7 separate regions of the Homo sapiens genome follow, and regions 1, 3, 4, 5, 6 and 7 are each linked to region 2. Evidence: promoter capture Hi-C in 16 types of primary human blood cells and fetal thymus (Javierre and others, 2016). All regions are on one chromosome and are shown on one strand. The core of a region is centred on a gene start or on the middle of the fragment in contact, and the rest is flanking DNA. Distances in the headings are between cores, read along the strand shown.

Region 1 (2,880 bases), core at 361-2,860, 270 kb after region 2:
ATAATGTATATAGAATTATATAAAATTCTAGAAAATTATGCAAGCTAGTCTAATTGGATCACTGGTTACCTAGTTGAAGTGAGGGGATTACCAAGGAGTACTAGGAAACTTGAGAGTGATGAATACACCCTTTATCTTGATTGTGGAGATGCTTTCACAGGTTATAAGTTGTGTCAAAATTCATCAAATTGTATACTTTAAATATGTGCAGTTTATTGTATGCCAATTATATCTTCATGAAGCTGTAAAACAGATTCTACACAGGCTTTCCTGAAGCTCTTCTCCTCACATTATGGACCCCTCCAGGGGCCCCAGTTGCCCCCACCTCCGTCCTGACTGTGAGCTCCTTGAAGTCAGCAAGGGCCATGTCAGATTCACCTTCTTATGCCCTTAGCACAAGCCAGGCTTTCACTACATATTTAATCAACGAGGCTTAGCAAGCAGGGTGAAATTCCCTGCCTAATATCACACAGCTCACCCGGGATTTGAGGCCAAGTGTGTCTGGCTCACTCAGATTCCACAGCATCGCTGCCCTAGGAGCCCCTGGGCCCGAGGCAGCAAAGGGCATAGAATGGCAACATCTTTTCCAAACATCGTGCAGCCTCTATTAGCACGTACCCAGTGACCGAAGACCCACAGCCAGACAAGAAGGCATTCTAGCCTTTGAAGGATGCAGACTACCAGGCCAGTCTTGCCAAAATGGAGCCTGACTATACCTCCCAGATCTGGTATGCCCTGGTTCAACCTGATCAAGGTACCATTAGGATAGTATAGACTAGCTAAAGCAATAAACTCTAGGCAAAAGGACTGCAGTCAAATCCAGGATCCATGACTTCCCATCTGTGTACACTGGAACACCCTAAGCTTTTATTTCCTCATCTGACAAAATGAGGAATAATAACAGCATTGACTCAAGGGGATGTGGTGAGCATGAAATCAGTTTGATGCATGTAAGAAGCTTACAGTGAGGCTTGGCAGAGGAGGCACACGGTAAATGTTAACCGTTATGTTGGTCAGAGAGGCATCCAGCTCCCCTTTCATGATTCAGCCAGAGCCTTTTTCCTATCTAGAAATTTCTGGATGATTCTGCAGTAGGGCGGGGGTCACTAACATCCAACAAACCTTGATTTCAGTCAGGAGTTTTGAATCTCAGGTTCTTCATATTTACCTTTTTTTTTTTTAGATGGAATTTCGCTCTTGTTGCCCAGGCTGGAGTGCAATGGCACTATCTCGGCTCATTGCAACCTCTGCCTCCTGGGTTCAAGCGATTCTCCTCCCTCAGCCTCTGAGTAGTTGGGATTACAGGCATGCACCACCATGCCCAGCTAATTTGTACATTTTTAGTAGAGATAGGGTTTCACCATGTTGGCCAGGCTGGTCTCGAACTCCTGACCTTAGGTGATCCACCTGCCTTGGCCTCCCAAAGTGCTGAGATTACAGGCGTGAGCCACTGCGCTCGGCCTGTATTTACCTTTTCCTCAAAAAGTAAACTTCTCCGAAATAATTTCAAATGTCCAGAAAAGTCGCAAGCATAGTACAGAGAATTTCTATACACCTTCATCCAGATTCACCAGTTGTTAGCATTTTGTCACATTTGCTTTATCGTATTCTCTCTTGATATACTATGCATATATATTTTTGAATATATACAGATATATATATCTCCTCCTGCCTCCATCTCCTGAGTATCTAGGACTATAGGCTCATGCCGCCACACCTGGATAATTTTTTTCATTTTTAGTAGAGATGGGGTCTTGCTATTTTGCCCAGGCTGGACTCCAACTCCTGACGTCAGGGGCAGTCCTTCTGCCTTGGTGTCTCAGAGTGCTGGGATTACAGGTGTGAGCCACCATGCCTATCTACCCCCAAATTATTTAGCATGTATTATATCTGGAGTGCAGTCCCTGACATATGGTTATAAAAATCAGGAAATCTGGCTTCGATATAAATTCATTATATTGTAGAGGAGGCAAAATTTTACCTATACCCTTTTAGAGTTTTCTGCTGGGCCTGAGAATTAAACTGACATGAGACAGATTAGTAGGAGAAAAGCATACACATTTATTTAACGTACATTTACATAACACGTGAGCCGTCCTAAGGAAAAGAAGACTCAAGGAAACAGAGCCAAACACTTACATGCAGATTTGGACACAGAGTAGTAAACTGTGAAAACGTGACAAGGCAAAGTGGCGTGGGTGTGGGTTAGGGTGGTTAACTGGGTAGAGAAGAGACTAGGAAGAGCTGGCTTTAACAAGCTTTGTTTGTACAGATTTATTTTGGCTTCAACTTCCTGCCATGGATGAAAGGAATGCTAATTTTCTCCTCGTATAGAGAAAAGTCTTCCATATGGAATTTCATCTCTTGCTTTCAGGAAGAAAAAAAGAAGGTCAGAGGCTCACTGCAACCTCTGCCTCCCAGGTTCACGCAATTCTCCTACCTCAGCCTCCCTAGTAGCTGGGATTACAGGCATGCGCCACCACGCCCGGATAATTTTGTATTTTTAGTAGAGATGAGGTTTCTCCAAGTTGGTCAGGCTGGTCTCGAACTCCTGACCTCAGGTGGTCTGCCTGCCTTTGCCTCCCAAAGTGCTGGGATGACAGGCCTGAGCGACCATGCCCAACCCACAGCAACCTTTTTGCACCTGATTTTGTTTGTTTGTTTTTAAAGTGCCTTTATCCCAAAATAATCCTTTTTTTTGAGACAGAGTCTCACTCTGTTTCCCAGGCTGGAGTGTAGTGGTCTGCAACCTCAATCTCCTGGGCTCAAGCAATCCTCCTGCCTCAGCCTCCCAAGTAGCTGGGATTATAGACATGCACCACCATGCCTGGCAAATTTTTTATATTTTGTATTTTTTGTAGAGACAAGGTTTCACCACGT
Region 2 (2,861 bases), core at 41-2,540:
GTCCTATGGGATGCAGGGCAAAGGTAACAGCAGGAAACTCATCTAAGCAGGTCCCATTCCATCCCCTCTGACCTGCTCTTGGTGGTTGCGAGAGGATTTGCTTGTGAGAGGTTTATTGGAAGAGGATTTGAGAACTTACTTTCATTTGAAAGCTTACAGGATATTTATGACAGTCTTTCCTTACCTGCCTTCCCCCACAAAACCAACTTCTGCAGATACACAATCTAAGTAAGAAAAATCTGCTTACTTTGAAAACACAGCTTCAAGATAACCTCCCTAGATTTTTTTTTTTTTTTTTGAGACCGGGTCTCACTCTGTTGCCCAGGCTGGAGTGCAGTGGTGCGATCACTGCTCACTGCATTCTTGACTTCCTGGGTTCAAGTGATCCTTCCACCTCAGCACCCTCCCAAGTAGCTGGGACTACAGGTGTGCACCATCACGCCCAGCTATTTTTTGATTTTTTGTAGAGACGGGGTCTCACTATGTTGCCCATGCTGGTCTCAAACTCTTGGGCTCAAGCAATCCGCTTGCCTTAGCCTCCCAAAATGCTGGGATTACAGGCATGAGCCACTGCGCCTGGCCTAGTCGCCCTAATATTTATCACAAACTCCCTCACCCTCTTCCCCAAACAACTTCACATAAATCTACAATCTAGAAAACTCTGTAGGTTGGCTTTGCAGTTTCTAGACAACTCACCCAGCACCTTTTTTCTTGTGAGATGACACCCCTAAACCACTCCTCTACTGAATTTCTAGGGAAACGCCTGTGGCTGATGTAATCATCTGCTTTCTAAGGGCCAGGTCCCCTCTGCCTAAGCCCTCGGATCCCCAGCAGTGGAGGGACAAATGCAACTTGGCTAGTCACATCGCATGCTTTAGCATGTTTCAATTTAACCCTGAAATGGCTGTAAGGGAGGGAAACCTACCAGGATTAACACAGGAGAAGTTAATCCTCAGACTCTCCTCAAGCTCTGGCTGGCATTTGAACCCCGCTGCTTTCACAGCAGCTCTTTTCCCTGAGTCAGGTGCCTAAAGCCAACCCCTTGGGGGCTCTGTCCTTCAGGGACCAGAGCGGCAGCCCCCTCCTCCCCCGACTTCTGCCCGCCGTCTCACCTTCTCTCCACGGAGCTCTCCTTTGTGGCCTTGGGTCCCGAGGGAGAGGAAGATCCTGAACCTCTGTCCTTGCCTCTCCGAGGTCCCCTGGTCTGGCAGGGGGCTGTGAGTGTCTGGGCTGGAGAAAGACGGATAGGAAGAGTAGGGTGGCCTTTGAACAGGAATTGATTGCAAAACTGGTTTCGGTTAAGTGCTGCAGGAGAGAAAAAGCAAAGCTCTAGGGCTCTTCCAGGAAATCATGGGCTCCAGCTGTCACTTTCAGTTTCCTTTTTGCCAGTTTCTCTAATTGGATGAACAAGGAGGTGAAAGAGCAGAATCCAAGTCAGGAGGCCTGAGTCTCTCGTCTCTGTCCTGGCTGTGTTATAGGATGGACCTATATGGGGTATGAAAATAGCTCCTGTGGCTTAGAGCTATGGTGAGGAGCCCATGAGCAAGCGATGGGGCGCCTGTTGAATAGTGGATTCACAGTAGCTGTCATCACTGATTGTTCTGAAACTGCTTTCCTCCACAGCATCTTACGTGACGCTGATGTGGGTAACAACCCTATGAGGTGCACAGCATTAAAGGGCTAATAACTCTGAATGCAGAATCCTCTGAAAATGGAAACTTTATTTTATTATTATTATTATTATTGTTTTTTGAGATGAAGTCTCGCTCTGTTGCCCAGGCTGGAGTGCAATGGCACGATCTCGGCTCACTGCAACCTCCGCCTCCTACGTTCAAGCTATTCCCCTGTCTCAGCCTCCCTAGTAGCTGAGATTACAGGCACCTGCCACCACGCCCGGCTGATTTTTGTATTTTTAGTAGAGATGGGGTTTTGCCATGTTGGCCAGGCTGGTCTCAAACTGCTGACCTCAAATGATCCATCCATCTAGGCCTCCCAAAGTGCTGGGATTACAGGCGTGAGCCACCGCACCTGGCCTCAGAATGAAAACTTAAAAAAAAATGATAATTTATTCATTTAGTGGCAAAACCTGACCTGATCTGGCATGAATTCACCTGTGGTTTTTATGTCTCCTGCTTAATTTGAATATTTACAGTCACTGCAGAAATATTAATATGTTTGACTGAGGAGGGCTGCTGCGGGTGCGTGGGTTACATAGTACACGATACCTGCACCCCATTACCTTTCTAAAAATCCCCCAAATCAGGAACTCTGACATGCATCTGGCCTCAAGGATTGGAGATATAGGATTGTGATACTCTGTCTCCCACTTTAAGGAAGAGGAAACCCAGGCTTCTAGAAGTTGTGGGTTGTTTGTGATTACACAGCTAAGAACCAGTCCTAGGCTCTGTGTCTACAAGAATGAGCCCACAGTGAGGTTACGGGCTGAGATCTGTGTCTCTCTAGCATTTGTGTCAAATTGTGATCAGAAGCCATGTGGTTTGTTTGTATTTATATGCCCAGAAGTCCCCAGTCACCACCCCTAGCTGAGACCACATTGGAGGCTGTTGCTTTGCAGAAGGTGCGGCCCACCTAGCCAGTCCTGGCTTTGCTGTGATAGAGGCCACCTCCTGTCCCTGGGCCCTACGAGCAGGAATGAGGGGTTAAGGGCTGCTGAGTTGGGTCTTGTAGGGGCCTTTCCAACCGTGGCATCCCGGATTCCACAACCCACCCCTGCTCCTGGCCTCCCACACTTGGGGAACACGCTAAACACAGCCTGACCTTGAGGAGGACTTGGCTGCCTGGCTGGGGCCGCTGAGCCATCCCAGGCCTGCCTGTTGTTTTCCCTGGCAACGGACCCAGAT
Region 3 (2,891 bases), core at 196-2,695, 270 kb before region 2:
ATTTTTTTTTTTTTGCATTTTACTTGCATGCTTAATTTTTCTTTGCTCAGCAGCAAACATTATGTTCCCCACTTGCTTCCCACTTGCTTCCCTATTTACTAAGGGGTGATAGTTATGTGTTATGTATCTATAGTCCTGTATAGTTTACAGGTATTGCTGTAATACCTGTAATGGGTATTGCTTTCATACCCATTCTCATTTGATCTTTGGTAAGACCCCAGTGAGTCTTTATTATTTGGGTGGGGGGGAAGGGTTTTAATCTCCATTGGCAGATGAGGAAATCAAGATTTGCAGTTTCCTGAGAGATTTGCCAAGGGTGGTAATAAGTGGCATAAAATTGGCTTTTTAAAAAAAACCAATTCCTTGGCCACAATTTATTAAAAAGGCAAATGGAATGGTCCTCCTAGAAAAGATTTGGAAGTTAGCCAGATGTGGTGGTGTGCACCTGTAGTCTCAGCTACTCTAGAGGCTGAGGCAAGAGGATGGCCTGAACCTAGGAGTTCGAGGCTTCAGTGAGCTGACTGTGCCAGTGCACTCCAGCCTGGGCGACAAAAGACCCTATCTCTAAAACAATATGGAAGTGTAAGAAGTTGGGGAAATAAAAGGAAAAAGAAAAAAGAAAAAAAAGATATGAAAGGCCTGGAGCCCTTTCCCCCATAAGGCTCTGCTGACTGGAAGACAGTTTGAAAACCAGTGAGGAATGATCAAAGAACTCTGGTGTCAGACAGACCTGAGTTCAAATTCCAGTTTGGACTGATACTTAACTTCCCTTAGGCTTACTTCCTCATTTGTAAGATGGGATGCTTTTATAGGATTGCTGATAAGTATTAGCCAAAAAACATGCCAGAAATCTATCACAGTACCTTCAGCTTCTGTGGATGCAAGGGGAGTGTGTTAGGCAGTGTAGGCTGACCCCTCACCACGTGCAGGACTCACACTAAATGTTGGGGGAAGTCATTGCTAAGACAGAGCCATAGGACTTCAAACCCAGCACTTCATACCTGACTGAAGGTTCAGGTGTCACATTTATCAATAGTTTAAAACAGGAGGGGGCAAACTTTCTGTAAAGCATCTGAGAGCATCTGGGCCATATGGTCTCTGTTAGAGCTACTCAGGAACTCTGGCACGGTAGCAGGGAAGCAGGCTTAGATTATAGTAAACAAAAGATTGTGGCTCTATTCTAGTAAAACTTTATTTGTGGGTACCGAAATTTTAATTTCATATAATTTTTATATGTCATGAAATGTCATTTTTCTTTTGATTTTTTCTTTCAATCATTACAAGATGTAAAAGCTATCTTAGCTGGTAGTCTGTGTGTGGGTTCTACAAAAACAAGTAGCCCATAGACCAAAGTCCTGATTTAGACATGTCTAGTTTTTTTTTTTTTTGAAATGGAGTCTAGCTCTGTCACCCAGTCTGGAGTGCAGTGGCGCAATCTTGGCTGACTGCAACCTCTGCCTCCCAGGTTCAAGCAATTCTTCTGCCTCAGCCTTCTGACTAGCTGGAAAATTAGCCACCATGCCCGGCTAATTTTTGTATTTTTAGTAGAGATGGGGTTTCACTATGTTGGTCAGGCTGGCCTCGAACTCCTGACCTCGTGATCTGCCCGCGATGGCCTCCCAAAGTGCTGGGATTACAGGCATGAGCCACCATGCCCGGCCTTATCAGTATTCTTAATACCAACAGAGTTTCACATTGTATTTGACACTATTTACAAACTCAGTTTATTCCCTCTGTGTGAATACTAGCCATTTCTAAAATGAAATGCAATTGTGATTTAAATTTCACATATCATTATGCTAAATGCTGTTCACTTTTTGTTCCATGGTCCTGAAACAATTAACCTGTTTGGAGATAAGCTGCAGATACAAGCACACAGAGAAGGGGACTTAGGAAAGCTGGAGGAAGGAAAGGTCTGTCTTGCCTACATATGGGCTTAGGAAAATTTTCTAACTGGAAACCTTGCCTCAAGTCTGAGTCACACTAGTGGGACTCTTGGCCCTAGGGTGGGAGGAGAAAAGGGAGGGAAGGAAGTGGCTATGTCAGTTTTTGTCAACAGAGGGCACCCAGAGCAAAGCAAGTGTTCTGTGACACAACAGAATCTGCCCCTCTGCCCCAGATGAATTTACCAGACAGGCACAGAACTTCTTGCAGTGGATTCTCTTGTCCATCTCTTCATTTGTCTGATCTGTGTCTGCATTCTCATGTTTTCTCCCATGCTGGAACCAGAATATTCTAAATGCAGTGTTAATAATTGTTATTTGCTGACTGCTTTAAGTGGAAGACCAATTCCCTCAATGTGCTGGGGTGAATTATCCCATGTTGTAAGGTTGGCCTTTTGGGTGGATGTGCAGTATTAGCTTCTAATTTAATTCAGTATCCAGTGAGCATGTATTCCTGAAATACTTTTGATGTGAAAGAGCACTTCATACCTGTATAACATGTTGTAAGAAGACTTTGTAAGTCTTATTGCCTAGAGCAGTATCCTCAAAGTGTGGCTTCAAATCCAGCCGCATCAGCATCACCTGGGAACTTACCTTTATTCATGGTCTCTGCCTCTTCCCCAGACTTACTGAATCAGAAACTCTGAGGATGGGGTCCAGTAATCTGTTTTAACATGCTTTGGTAATTCTTATACACACTCAACTTGAGAACCACTGTCATAGGGTAAAGGAGTGGAAGAGTTAAGGGCACTGGTATTTATGGAAGACTATGTGCCAAGTACTTGGCTAGGAGTTTCCTCTTCATTTTCCACATGAGAACAGCAAGCCTTAAAAGCATTAAGTGATTTGCCAAAGTCGTACATAGAATAAGTGGTAGAATAGGGATTTGAACCCTGGTTTTTCTGACTCCTGAGCCATACTATAGTGGCTGGTAAGAAAATGCTAAGA
Region 4 (2,861 bases), core at 155-2,654, 290 kb before region 2:
TTTTTCTGCTGTTTGGTTATTATGAAATAATGCTGCTATGAACATTCATGTATATTATTTTGTGTGGACATATGTTTTCAGTTTTCTTAGTTACATACCCAGGTGTGGAATTGCTGGGTCATATAACTCTATGTTTAATAGAAGGACTATCCAACTGTTTCCAGAGCAGCTATACCATTTTACATTCCCACCCGCAGTGTAGAAGAATTCTGATTTCTCCATGTCTTTGACAATACTTATTGTTGTCTGGCATTTTGTTTATAACCATTCTGATGAGTGTGAGTTTTATCTCAATGTGGTTTTGATTTGCATAATGACTTATGATGTTGAGCATCTCTTCATGTACTTACTGGCCATTTGCACATCTCTTTTGCAGAACTGTCTGAATTCCTACACATTTTCTGGTTATTTAGCTCCATTTATTTATTACACATTCTTTTGGGTGTCTACATGTGTTAGATACTGTGCTAGATCTCAGGGAAACCATGATGAACAAGACACAGGGTCTCTGCAGTAAGCTTAAGTTGTCTTCAGACTTCCATGCTTTTGACTATCAAATATCTGAATATAGTCAACCTACCAATTAGTGGAAAGTTTACTCTATTGTTATATTCAAAAGTCCTATCAATGAAAATTTCTTTTACGCTGTTCTGCTAGTAGGAATGAAAGTACAGTGAATGGAAGAAGAGGATGAATATCTAAGTAGCAATGTTGAGCACTTTGAAAATTACAAAAGCAATGTATGTTCTCATTTACTCCTTCGTGTGCACGTGCATCTTCCCTCATTTAAAAGTTCCCTTGAAAGCAAGGGCCTTATTTTTAATTCATCTTTTTTTACTCCATCAGTCGACTAACAGTGCTTGGAAAATATTAATATTAGTATATATTAACTGAATGATTGAATGGGTCAAGTAAGCTGGAAATGAGTGTTCATGTTATATGACCTTATACTAAATTAGGGTTTGCATGGCTTTTATTAGCTATCATCCTTGCCCTCAAGGATCTTGACTTAGTGGTTTAAAGTGAAAATGAGACAGATACTCAACATGATATACCTTTAAAAAATAAGGTTAATTAGAATCATAAGTAACATAAAAAGTAAGCTGCACAAGTAAGCTAAGTAAATATTAAATATTAGGAGGAGTCACTTGAGTCCATAGGATGATATAGAGTAGTAGAGGAAGTCTTGAACAGAGGTCAGATTTCATCCAGATTTCAAAGAACTGAGGGGATAAAACAAAAAATAAATAAATAAAAAAGTAAAAACTGAGGGGAAACAGGCTGATAGAGACGAAGACCTAAAACTTTTCTGGGTTAAGAGGCAGTTCTCAGCAGGGTTGGTACTTGTCCCCTTTCCATCCAGGGGACATTTGGAAATAAACCAACAAGTTTTTGGTTATCCTAGTGTTTAGGGGTGCTAACGGCTTAGTGTGAGTTGGGGCTGGGGATGCTGAAGTCCCACAGTGTATGATGAAGTTAGGAATTAACTCTGACCCCAGTCGCAGTAGCACCCTGCCTAAGATATACTGGAAAGGAAACAGATTTAGCTGCATAAGGAAGAAATAGTTTTTATGAATAGTGCTCCTAAGCAAATACTGTTTTTTGTTTTTGCCAGTGTAGAGGCTTAACGAGGAGATATATACACTTAGGTAGGGTGGAATACAGTTAATGGAACATTTTAGGAACCAGGGCAGGAATTTATATTTGATCAGTTTGGATGATTTTGATTATGCCTAACATTTTCTTTCATCTCATGGTTTGATATTTTTCTTGTCTTTCTCATAGAACGAGCCTCTGACTCCAGGTTATCATGGATTCCCAGCGCGGGACAGCCAGGTTGGTATCTGCTGTTTGTAACTCAGATGATGTATGTGTGTGGTGTGTTTCATCAAAGGGTTGCTATGATAGAGAGCATTTCCTGAAATTACTTACTTTGAAAGGAAATGTGGCTTGTTTCAGCAGTGAATTTACTTTTACAGATGTAAATTAAGCATATTTTTAAATTCTATAAGTATTATGTTATTAAAATTGTGGATATTAGAAGAGAAAATAATCACTCAAGCACAGTCATGATTGGTTTTGTATTTTCTTCTCCAGGCTACATAATAATTTTTTGACCTGGTTTTCTTGATGCCTTATAATTCTGAATGCTGGACTTGTCTCTTTATTACCTGCCAGTTAGCCCCTGCCTGCACAGAGTTTTTGAGTCCTTGTAATGATCTGTAGCAAGAAAATTCCATTCTCCTCCCTGGGGGAATTCAGCCTTATGGTTTTAATCAGGGAAAGCTTGCCTGAGAAAGCAAAGTTTCTGCCACCTTTCTTTGTTAGATGGGAGGATGACTGGAAAAGCCCAGGCCCTATTATGGGTCAGAGCAGAATTGCTTCCTACGAGACACCCTCAGTATGGTTTAGGCAAGTGTGTAAAATGCCTTCCCTATCTTTTTGTTGTTTGAATACTTGAGCCCATGACGTTGAAACAGAGTTAGGATAGAAGAACAGGTAAGGCTTCCTCTTAGAGAAATGGTGTGGCTTAAATCACCTCGCCTCTGAAAGAAATTTGTATCTTTGATGTTTGGGGATATTGACGTTCTTCAGGAGATTTGAAAGGGTAGCTCCTAGAAATATCTTGGAATGCCATTATTCCTTACAGGGTTGTCAAAAAAAGCTACCATTGTTATACTTGTCCAGGAGATATGAGTTACAGTGCTAAACGAAAGAGTTCATAGTGTCCTTTCCAGAAGTTCATTGAATCTCATCAGAGCTCCTGAAGTGGATCTTAAAAACTAGGATGGTCGGCTGGGTGCGGTGGCTCATGCCTGTAATCCCAGTACTTTGGGAGGCCAAGGTGGGTGGATCATGAG
Region 5 (3,245 bases), core at 643-3,142, 290 kb after region 2:
CTACTCTTTTTTTATTTTTTTTGAGACGGAGTCTCACTCTGTCGCCCAGGCTGGGGTGCAATGGCGCCATCTCTGCTCACTGCAACTCCACCTCCCGGGTTTGGGCAATTCTCTTGTCTCAGCCTCCCAAGTAGCTGGGATTACATGCGCCCGCCTCCACGTCTGGCTAATTTTTTGTATTTTTAGTAGAGATGAGGTTTCACCATGTTGGCCAGGCTAGTCTCGAACTCCTGACCTCAGGTGATCCATCCGTCTCTGCCGCCCAAAGTGCTGGGATTACAGGGGTGAGTCACCATGCCTGGCCCAAAACCCTACTCTTGACAAATACTTATGAGCAGAGCATTTACTAAAGATCTCAGGGCCACAGAGAGGGGTGACATTAGACAGAACCTAGAGAACAATCTAATACAGCATCTGTTCTTCCGAATCTTTTTTGGCTACTCCTCTCCCTTCCCTCCCTCTACCCCAGTAGTTGACCTCTGATCCTCCCCCAACTCTTTGCCTGGGGCCCAGTAGCTCACCCTCTCCTGCCTTCTCTCTCTTCCCTTTCCCCGTTCTTGTCTCTGTGCTCTCAGGCCCTCTTCCAGATGGCCCGGTAGGATTCACCTCCCTCTTAAGAGCAGAGCAGTCCAGCTGTCTCCAGCTCCCTCCCCAAGCTTGCAGATCCAAAGTCCCTGTGCACAAACATGGACATGAGAGAGCTTCCTTTTCTCCAACCATTGTCTTCAACCATGCCCAGCCTCCACCAGGGTCCTTTGTGACATCTTGGGTGGTTTTGCTAACTTTCTTGTCATTTTCAAGTACAAAAAAGTCCAATCTTGGCGCAGTGGCTCACACATGTAATCCCAGCACTTTGGGAGGCCGAGGTGGGTGGATTGCTTGAGCTCAGGAGTTTCAGACCAGCCTGGCCAACATGATGAAACCCTATCTCTGCTACAAACACAAAAATTAGCCAGACATAGTGGCACACGCCTGTAATCCCAGCTACTTGGGTGGCTGAGGCAGGAGAATCACTTGAACCCAGGAGGCAGAGGCTGCAGTGAGCCGAAATAGCGCCACTACACTCCAGCGTGGGTGACAGAATGAGATCCCATCTCAAAAAAAAAAAAAAAAGTCCAGTCTTGAAGTTTAATCTCACATCGAATTTGATATCCCCTCCTCCCTCCCCTTAGCACTTCAGGAGGGTATGGCCAGCTCCTTCACTCTCCCTTCCTTGCCTCTGTCTCCTGGGTCCCTGTGTTGCAGAGTTGAGGTGAGGGGATGGGAGGGCAGAGCCATGTTTACGTGGGGACGGTGCAGAAGCCAGGGTGGCCGTCGATGGAGATGCCCAATGCGTGTGAAGGCCAAGGCTGGCAGGAGCCGTGGGGGAGCCCCTGGCCAGCAGTGAGCATGGCTATCTTCAGCTCCTGCCCTTTTGGGTTGGGGTTCTGCTCCAAACAGTGGGTGGGCCCAGAGGGGCTGGGCAAACAGAGGCTGTGCTGTTAGTTCCCTCAGATGAGGCTGCCCAGGCAACTGGAGCACTTTTGGATGGAACGAGATACTGCATTGGTGTATTAAAAGTCTGATTACTGCCGGGCGCAGTGCCTCGCACCTGTAATCCCAGCACTTTGGGAGGTCGAGGTGGGTGGATCACTTGAGGTCAGGAGCTCGAGACCAGCCTAGCCAACATGGTGAGACCCCATCTCTACTAAAAATACAAAAATTAGCCAGGCGTGGTGGCATGTGTCTGTAATCCCAGCTACTTGGGAGGCTGAGGCAGGAGAATCACTTGAACCCGGGAGGCGGAGGTTGCAGTAAGCCGATATTGCGCCACTGCACTCCAGCCTGGGGGACACAGCGGGACTCTGTCTCAAAAAAAAAAAAAAAAAAAAGTCTTGATTACTGATGCCCAAAAGGGAAAAATATTAACAACTCAATGCATTGTGGAATGTTTTGTGGCCAAAAATCAAAACAAACAAAACTCTTCTAAATCCATAGTCTTGGGGAGAGACCATGATAGAAGATTTCCTTGGGGAGAGAAGGTTTTAGAACCCACTGGCCTAGTTGGTCTCTGAGGCTGAAAGTTCTGTGGGAGCCCAGAGCACGGTGCAGGGTGCTGGGGAGGGCCTTCTGAAGACAGACTTCCCAGCTGTCCTCCATTCGCCCACCTCCTGCGGGGCAGGTGCTATGGAGGACCGGGATTCTAGTTTCAGTTCTTTTACAAATTTGCTGTGTGGCCTTGGGCAAGTCTCTGCACTGGTCTGGGCCTGAGAAGGGATCCTGAGGGAGGGCCCCATCTCAGCAGCCAGCCTTCTCCCTGCAGGGGTCCAGTGGCCTCTGCAGCCTAAGTGGCTTGCAGGGCTCAGGGCTACTCATACAGATAATGTACACAGTGACTTTTCTAGCCCCAAGGCAGACCTAGGCGCAGCCCCAGGCCCAGAATAGAGTGCACTTCATCCTGATCCCCCAGGGACCTTTTCTCCCCAGAAAAGAGGACTCAATGTTTCCACTTGCCGGCTGTGTGGCTTTGGATTAGCTAGTTGACTTTTCTGACCTCACCCCCTCCTTTGTAAAATGAAGATTCTTTTTTTTTTTTTTAATTTGTATATTTTTTGAGATGGAGTCTCACTCTTGTTGCCCAGGCTGGAGTACAGTGGCGCGATTTCGGCTCACTGCAGCCTCCGCCTCCCGGGTTCAAGCGATTCTTCTGCCTCAGCCTCCCTGGTAGCTGGGATTACAGACACCCACAACCACGCCTGGCTAATTTTTGCATTTTTAGTAGAGACAGGGTTTCGCCATGTTAGCCAGGCTGGTCTTGAACTCCTGACCTCGGGTGATCCACCCACCTCGGCCTCCCAAAGTGCTGCGATTACAGGCGTGAGCCACTGCGCCTGGCTGAAGATTCATTTTTAACAGAGCTTCCAAGGGCTCCAGTGAGGGCAGGGTCCTGTGGGGAGCATGGGCAGCACCCCCATTCCTCAGTTCACCCACTTGCTTTTCCCTTTCCTAGGGGTACCCCAGGGCAGGTGCAAGGATGTCCCCGGCTTGGGTTTCGCTTCCCTCCTGCCCCTAGGCGGTCAGCTTCCTGTGCGGGCATTCAGCAGGGTGTGTGGGTGGCCGCCTCCACCCATTGGTCCCACTGAAGCTTGGGCAGTTGTTTCCCTATCGCCGCTGGTCCTGGAGGGGAGATAAACCCGGGGTCCTGCTTCCCTCTCTTGTAGATATTTGAGTTTCTTTCCTCGTATTTCTTTCCTTTTTGGAAGGAG
Region 6 (3,135 bases), core at 612-3,111, 310 kb after region 2:
CCAGTGACTACGGCAGGGCCCTGCTGGAGCCAACCTTAAAGCCAGTGGCGGGGGAGGTGGGGCGTCAGGTTGCTGACTTCTGACCCAGAGAAGGCCTGCTAATTGAGGGTCTGGAGGTGCTTGTTGCTGTCTCTAAGACATGCTTGGCGCATTGTGGGCAAGGCTGAAGAAGCCATGCCCAGCCCCAGAACACGCAGAAACCCATGATTTCCCTTCACTCAAAACAACTATCTGGGCCAGGTGCAGTGGCTGAAATCCCAGCACTTTGGGAGGCCAAGGCGCGCGGATCACGAGGTCAGGAGATCGAGACCATGCTGGCTAACATGGTGAAACCCCGTCTCTACTAAAAATACAAAAAATTAGCCAGGTGTGGTGGTGGGCGCCTGTAGTCCCCAGCTACTCGGGAGGCTGAGGCAGGAGAATGGCGTGAACCCAGGAGGTGGAGCTTGCACTCTGCAAGCGCCACTGCACTCCAGCCTGAGAGACAGAGCGAGACTCCGGCTCAAAAAAAAAAAAAAAAGAACTATCTGCCCTTCCTAAGCTTAGCTCCTCGCCACCCCTGCCCACACATGGCCCTGAAGCCCAGCTGTCCCTGAAGGCCATGCCTGTGGTGGTGGAGGGCCAAGCACTTCCCTGGAGGAAGCCCGCACCTCCTGCACTGGGTGGTGACCCCTGGGCTAGGGCCTGCTGCCCCCTGCCCAGTGCAGGAGGGTGGAGGGTCACTCCTTAGGTGGTCCCAGTGGGGCTGGTGGGCAGGGGCTGCACCTGGGCCACTGGGGTGACACTTGTCTAAGTGCTCCTTGTAGAGAAGGCCTCTGTGTACAGCAGCACTGACGAAGATGCGGACAAAGCGGGGGAAGGACACCCCTGCCTTTGTGAAGGCCTAGCCGAGGCGTCTCTGCTGTGGCTCGCCCAGAAGCCCTGCTACTCCTTGGCATTGAGTGGATAGGACTGGCTGCAGGAAGGCTGTGACGGTGCCAGCTGTGGTCAAGGCTGGAGCAGAAACAGCGGCTGATAAGGAGCTGGTTTCCCTGCCAGCCAGGGCAGAGCTGGTTGCAGGCTGGTGTGAAGTGGGGAGCCAGGCAGGTACAGGGAGGAGCGGGCTGGACACCAAGCTGGCAGAAAAGGCCAGTCAGGTGACCAGAGCTGGAAGATCCACCAGAAGCATTTAAGGGGGCCAGCCAGGCAGGAGAACAAAGGGAAGACGAAATGGATGCTCAGGTCCACGCCTGACCTTGCTGGATGTTTTCTGCCAGGGTGGAAACCAAGCCCTGGGGAGGGCCTGCAGGAGAACCAATGGCCTGAGAAGGTGCATGATGTCATTTCAGCTGTGCTCAGCTGAAGGCAGTTTCAAAGATGAAAATCTGATAAGAAAAAAGATCCTTCCTGTGCTCCCTCCTGCTCATGTTAGAATAAAATCAACTGCCTCTCTGTAGCCCAGTGGGCCCCACCACCCTCTCAGCATCCTGCCCCCTTCCCTGTGTGAAGAGCATCTTTCCCAGCTGCTGTGCGGGAGCCAGGGCACCTCTCTCCCGCCCTGCCTCTGAGACTTTGCACATGCTGTTCCTAGTGCCTGAAATGGCCTTCCTATCACCCAGCACCTGGTCCAGCTCTGAGTACCCTCCGCAGAGTTGCATGCTCCCTCCTCTGTGTCCACAGAGCCTGGTGCCCCCTCCAGGACAGCACTTAGCCCTTCACAGCGGTGGTCCTGGTGCATGTCACTCTCCCATGAGACTGCAGGCCCTAGAGGACAAGTTCCTTGTGTGCTTTTCCCTGTCCCCCGGAGCCTGCTCCCCAGAGGAAGGACAGCGCAACAGCATACCTCAGCCAGGCTGGTGACCAGGGCAGGCGCCAGGGTTCTCCAGTATGGCCAGCAGTGTTGCCTGCTGGGGCCTCTGTGGATGGGCGTGTCTGGCTGCAAGTCCCATCACACTCATTAGCTTGCCTTTGCAGGGTAGCCTCGGCAGCACCCCTAACTCCATGGCAACAGCTGCTGGTCCCAGGGTACCTGGGCTTAAAAGTACAGACTCTGCCCAGACTAAAGAAAGATACAGCTAACAGCCAGGGCAGCCCTAAGGACCTAGCAGGCTACAGCCTGGACCTGGATTTGTGGGTGTGGAGAGGTTATCCCTGGGCTCTCTGGAGGCCCATTGACAAAGTTCCAAAAGACACCAGAATGACCTCTAAGGAGCTGAGTGGGGTCAGTGGGAAGATCCCATAATCTAGAACTTTCCTTAGCTATAAGAATCCTGGCTGCCCACAGCTCAGCCCTGGGGGTCACAGTGGGCAAAAGGCTGAAGAAAACATCAAGCAGACTGTTCCTCTTACAAGCCTGTACGGGGCCAGTTCTCCCGCAGGTCCCGGCAAGGGGTCAGACCCTGGTGGACACACTCAGGCCACGTGCCTATGCTGCTGAAAGTACCCCCTGAAAATGCACGGTGCACAGGGAAGGGCAGAGCCCCAGCTCTGGGGCAAGGCTGACAGAACCTGCTTAATCTTCTCTGGAAATTAACGGTGGCTATGGAACAACAGAAAAAGACTTGACTTGAAAGTCCCTGAGGATTTATCAGGAAACTTCCCTGCTCCTGGAGGGCTTACTATGCGGTACACAGTGCAGGGAGGGGGGCGGGGGGTGGAGACACTGTGTTTTGGAACCAGACAGCCCTAGGCTCCTAACCTAGTGCTGCCAAATATTAGCTCCTTGACCTGGGGCAAATGAGCCTGCCCCTCTCTGTGCCTCAGTTTCCCCCTCTGATCAGACTATGTAAGATTCTGGCATACAGTGGGTCATTAGGCTCCCCCTCCCCCACCCAGCATGGCCTGTGGGGAGCGCAGTCTGTCAACTGACCACAGGGCTCCCAGGCCATGCTGGACTGACTTAGGGGATACTAAGGGCGTGCTTACTAAGCAGGGTCCGTGTGCCCTTCCTCATGGTGTGCCACCATAAAACCGGGTTCCAGAACCCCGAGAGCCACCCGAACTGCAGGGGACCAGGGCAGGGCCAGGCCACTCACTCTTTCCGTTGGTCAGCCAGTGAGCTGCCCCGTGTCAGCGCAAACATGTCAAACTCATCTTCCAGTCGACCAGAGGCCTCCAGAGACTGCAGGCCAGCTCTCACACTGCTGGAGCCCAGGT
Region 7 (2,925 bases), core at 343-2,842, 320 kb before region 2:
TGCTGGTAATGTCCTATTTCTTGGCCTAGGTGTTAGTTACATGGCAGGGGGCGGGGGGATGGTCACTTTGTGAAAATTCATTGAGTTATGCACTTAGGTTTTTTGCCTATTTCTGTATATGTAATCGCTTTGGTAGAAAGTTTACTTTCTTCTACTTGCGTTCTGTGATTGCTACAGCTGATAGATAGCTTTCCCTTCATACACATACTGATCCTTTTCCTGTCGAGCTTGTAGGATGTGAGTGTGCACATACATTTTTGTGTTTATGTGTTGGGGTGTTATGTGGGGATGAAGGTGCTTTTTAAAGTTAATGTAAATTTGCTTGTCAGATATTCAACATGCTGTTTCAAACAGCCACAGGAAAGTAGAATTGATGAATAAGCTTCATTGACCACTTTTTAAACTAATTCTCCAAGAATAAGAAGGACATTTTCATTCTACCTAATAAGGCAGCAGATTTGGATTTTGCTCTGCAGACAAAAGAACCTCTTCATTGAGGGTCTCAGCCACTAACAGCTTCATTTTCAGAAGGATGTACCTCATTTTGGCCATTATTCTTATCATGGAGACTATGAGGAGAACAAATCTCCATAATATTAATTTTTTTCCCCCCTTTTACTCTGTGGAAATCTAACTCAAAGTAAGGCATTTTAGGAAAACCTAATTTGGGTTAGGTAGAAAATCTAAAAGATGTTGCCTTGCCTTCTCTTAGCTGGTCATATCTCTCAATTCTGAACCTGGCCTTAGTAAAATTCTTCAAAGTTCAAGTTTGTTATGTTGTCTTATGACCATCCCTTTGTAAATCTTTGTTCTCCCTCCATGGAATGCTCTTACCTTCCTCATTTACTTAAATGAACTCCTGCTCATTCTCCATGGCATCTTCTAAAAGTAGCCTTTCCTTCTGTGTGCTGTCACCATACCTATATACACCTTGGCTATATTGAATACCACGCATAGCTCTATTTATTTGTTCTTTGGGGCCAGCCTTTTGAGATTATCGACTGGTGTGTGGTAAGTATTCAGTAAGTATTGGAAGAAAGAATGGATGATTGAAAATATTATTTGAAAGACAATAACTATTTTCTAAAGAATAAAATCTGATTATAATATTTGACATCAGTAGATACATTTTTTTTCCAGAAAAGGTGATTGTTTGCCTTAATTTCCGAGTAAAAAAGGATATATGTTTACAACAGGGTGTATGTTGTGGCTGTAGGAGAGAATGATGCTAACTGGTTCACATGGGTAGCAGACACGTGACCTTGGCCTCTTTAGCATGGTCCTCTAATCAGCTGATTTAATTTTAGTGGAATCCCTGAAGAAATGCTCTGGTTCTATATGTGGAATGTAGAAATCATAAATCTAATGTATAGATCCTGACTGCATTAGGGTTTGTGGATTAAAACCAACAAATAGACTGTGTAGGTATTATGACATTATAACTGGGCCAGTGTAGGCATTATGACAGTGATAATTTTTTTCATCTCAAATATTATGAAATTAATTCCAGAATGTTATCTGAAGTTTTGTCATTTCATTTCAGCATGTAATTTCTCAAGCCAATTTTAATTTAAAAAGATCTGAGTAGAATCATTGCCGTTTGTCCAGAAGTTTAGAATAATAGGATTAGAATAATAAATTAATAAGTATTGAGTGCCTACTTAGAGTTTAATACTGTTAGTAATACATAAAAAGTATGACTTTGACCTTGATGTCAAGTGTCCTATATTTTATCGATGGCATAAGAGAACACAGATGTAAAATGATTTCTAGATGTTTTTTTCCAACCCTCACTATCTGAAAATAGGAAGCTAAGTGGAAAAATGCACAGGCTTTGGAATCCAAACAGATCTGGGTTAGAATCCTGGCTTTTTAAAAAAAATGAAATAATGAGTATATAACCATGGTCACCTTGACATCACTGGAACTCTGTTTCTGTGTTTGCAAAGTGGAGTAAGAATGTATACTAGGCAGGGCATAGTGGCTCACACCTGTAATCCCAGCACTTTGGAAGGCCGAGGTGTGGAAATCGACTGAGGTCAGGAGTTCGAGACCAGCCTGGCCAATATGGTGTAACCCCATCTGTACTAAAAATACAAAAATTACCCAGGCCCGGTGGCGCTTGCCTGTAATCCCAGCTACTCAGGAGGCTGAGGCAGGAGAATTGCTTGAATCCGGGAGGCAGAGGTTGCAGTGAGCTGAGATGGCACGACCGCACTCCAGCCTGGGCGACAGAGTGAGACTCCATTGCAAAAACAACAACAACAACAACAAAAAGAATATATACTAGTGTTGGTGTTTTTATTTTTTTGAAATAGCGATGACACATATAAAACTCTTGGAACGTAATAAGTGCTCTTAATGTACGTTTGAGTCAAAGAGTAGATAAATGGAGCTTTGTTTTGCAACTTTCCACTTAGTCTAGGCCATTGCTGATAGATTTCTTCATAATAAGTCAAGTTTAGTAATTGAGTTGATGGGCACTCTCAGAAACTGCTTTAGTCTCCCTCTTGTAGAATAAGGTGACTGTGCTTATTATACTTAATAATTATTAGTGCTTTTAATACTAATTAATTATTAGTGCTTATCATACTTAATACTTAGCCAGTGGAACCATGGTGTCCATAGGAATGCTTTCACACAAGGAATGGCTTGTTAAGGTCAACAAGGAGCGAAATAAGAAAACAAATATCTCAGAGATGGGCTAATCATATTGTCCCCCACCCCGCACTGCAATGTGGGTTTCAGTTGTTAGCATGTGCTTCATCCTTTGCTGTTTTCCACAACAGTTATAAAGCTTTTTCTAGATGCCTGTGTGTTAACTAGAGGCATCTTGACTCTTTTGACTTCTCTAATTGTTCTAAATTGTTTAAGTTTTCTGTGGGGTAGATGACTGTTATTATACTAAATTATTCTTCTTTCCTG

The links. The method cuts DNA at HindIII sites, captures the fragments that hold promoters and counts their contacts. A CHiCAGO score of 5 or more calls a contact.
Region 1: a fragment that was not itself captured here is called in contact with the fragment with the promoter of APOL6 in region 2 in 1 of 17 cell types (M0 macrophages); the score reaches 5.7 in M0 macrophages.
Region 3: a fragment that was not itself captured here is called in contact with the fragment with the promoter of APOL6 in region 2 in 11 of 17 cell types (M1 macrophages, M0 macrophages, M2 macrophages and 8 more); the score reaches 24.9 in M1 macrophages.
Region 4: a contact is called between a fragment that was not itself captured here and the fragment with the promoter of APOL6 in region 2, in 6 of 17 cell types (M2 macrophages, M1 macrophages, M0 macrophages and 3 more). The highest score is 12.5, in M2 macrophages.
Region 5: a contact is called between a fragment that was not itself captured here and the fragment with the promoter of APOL6 in region 2, in 1 of 17 cell types (M0 macrophages). The highest score is 7.6, in M0 macrophages.
Region 6: a contact is called between a fragment that was not itself captured here and the fragment with the promoter of APOL6 in region 2, in 1 of 17 cell types (M0 macrophages). The highest score is 6.2, in M0 macrophages.
Region 7: a contact is called between a fragment that was not itself captured here and the fragment with the promoter of APOL6 in region 2, in 4 of 17 cell types (M1 macrophages, M0 macrophages, M2 macrophages and 1 more). The highest score is 7.2, in M1 macrophages.

Annotation. Positions count from the first base shown.
Region 1 is chr22:35,373,287-35,376,166 of GRCh38, reverse strand. No RefSeq gene overlaps it. Among named protein-coding and RNA genes, the nearest start is that of HMOX1, 6.4 kb to the left of the region's middle. The HindIII fragment of the contact is 1,300 bases long and covers 961-2,260 here.
Region 2 is chr22:35,646,875-35,649,735 of GRCh38, reverse strand. APOL6 (apolipoprotein L6) reads right to left here and starts at 1,290. Exons shown (of 3, transcript NM_030641.4): 1 at 1,113-1,290. RefSeq lists an enhancer at 1,286-1,585. The HindIII fragment of the contact is 8,876 bases long and covers 155-2,861 here.
Region 3 is chr22:35,921,069-35,923,959 of GRCh38, reverse strand. All of the region lies in intron 2 of RBFOX2 (RNA binding fox-1 homolog 2), which reads left to right. Among named protein-coding and RNA genes, the nearest start is that of RBFOX2, 110 kb to the left of the region's middle. The HindIII fragment of the contact is 3,625 bases long and covers 1-2,891 here.
Region 4 is chr22:35,937,822-35,940,682 of GRCh38, reverse strand. RBFOX2 (RNA binding fox-1 homolog 2) reads left to right here. Exons shown (of 14, transcript NM_001349999.2): 2 at 1,786-1,836. Among named protein-coding and RNA genes, the nearest start is that of RBFOX2, 90 kb to the left of the region's middle. The HindIII fragment of the contact is 1,768 bases long and covers 521-2,288 here.
Region 5 is chr22:35,353,311-35,356,555 of GRCh38, reverse strand. No RefSeq gene overlaps it. Among named protein-coding and RNA genes, the nearest start is that of MIR6069, 18 kb to the right of the region's middle. The HindIII fragment of the contact is 2,468 bases long and covers 659-3,126 here.
Region 6 is chr22:35,334,328-35,337,462 of GRCh38, reverse strand. It overlaps TOM1 (target of myb1 membrane trafficking protein), which reads right to left. Exons shown (of 15, transcript NM_005488.3): 11 at 3,015-3,135. It overlaps MIR3909 (microRNA 3909), which reads right to left and starts at 1,823; the gene lies at 1,705-1,823. MIR6069 (microRNA 6069) reads left to right here and starts at 664; the gene lies at 664-742. RefSeq lists an enhancer at 1-648. The HindIII fragment of the contact is 2,635 bases long and covers 544-3,135 here.
Region 7 is chr22:35,963,090-35,966,014 of GRCh38, reverse strand. The region is part of intron 1 of RBFOX2 (RNA binding fox-1 homolog 2); the gene reads left to right. Among named protein-coding and RNA genes, the nearest start is that of RBFOX2, 64 kb to the left of the region's middle. The HindIII fragment of the contact is 2,415 bases long and covers 385-2,799 here.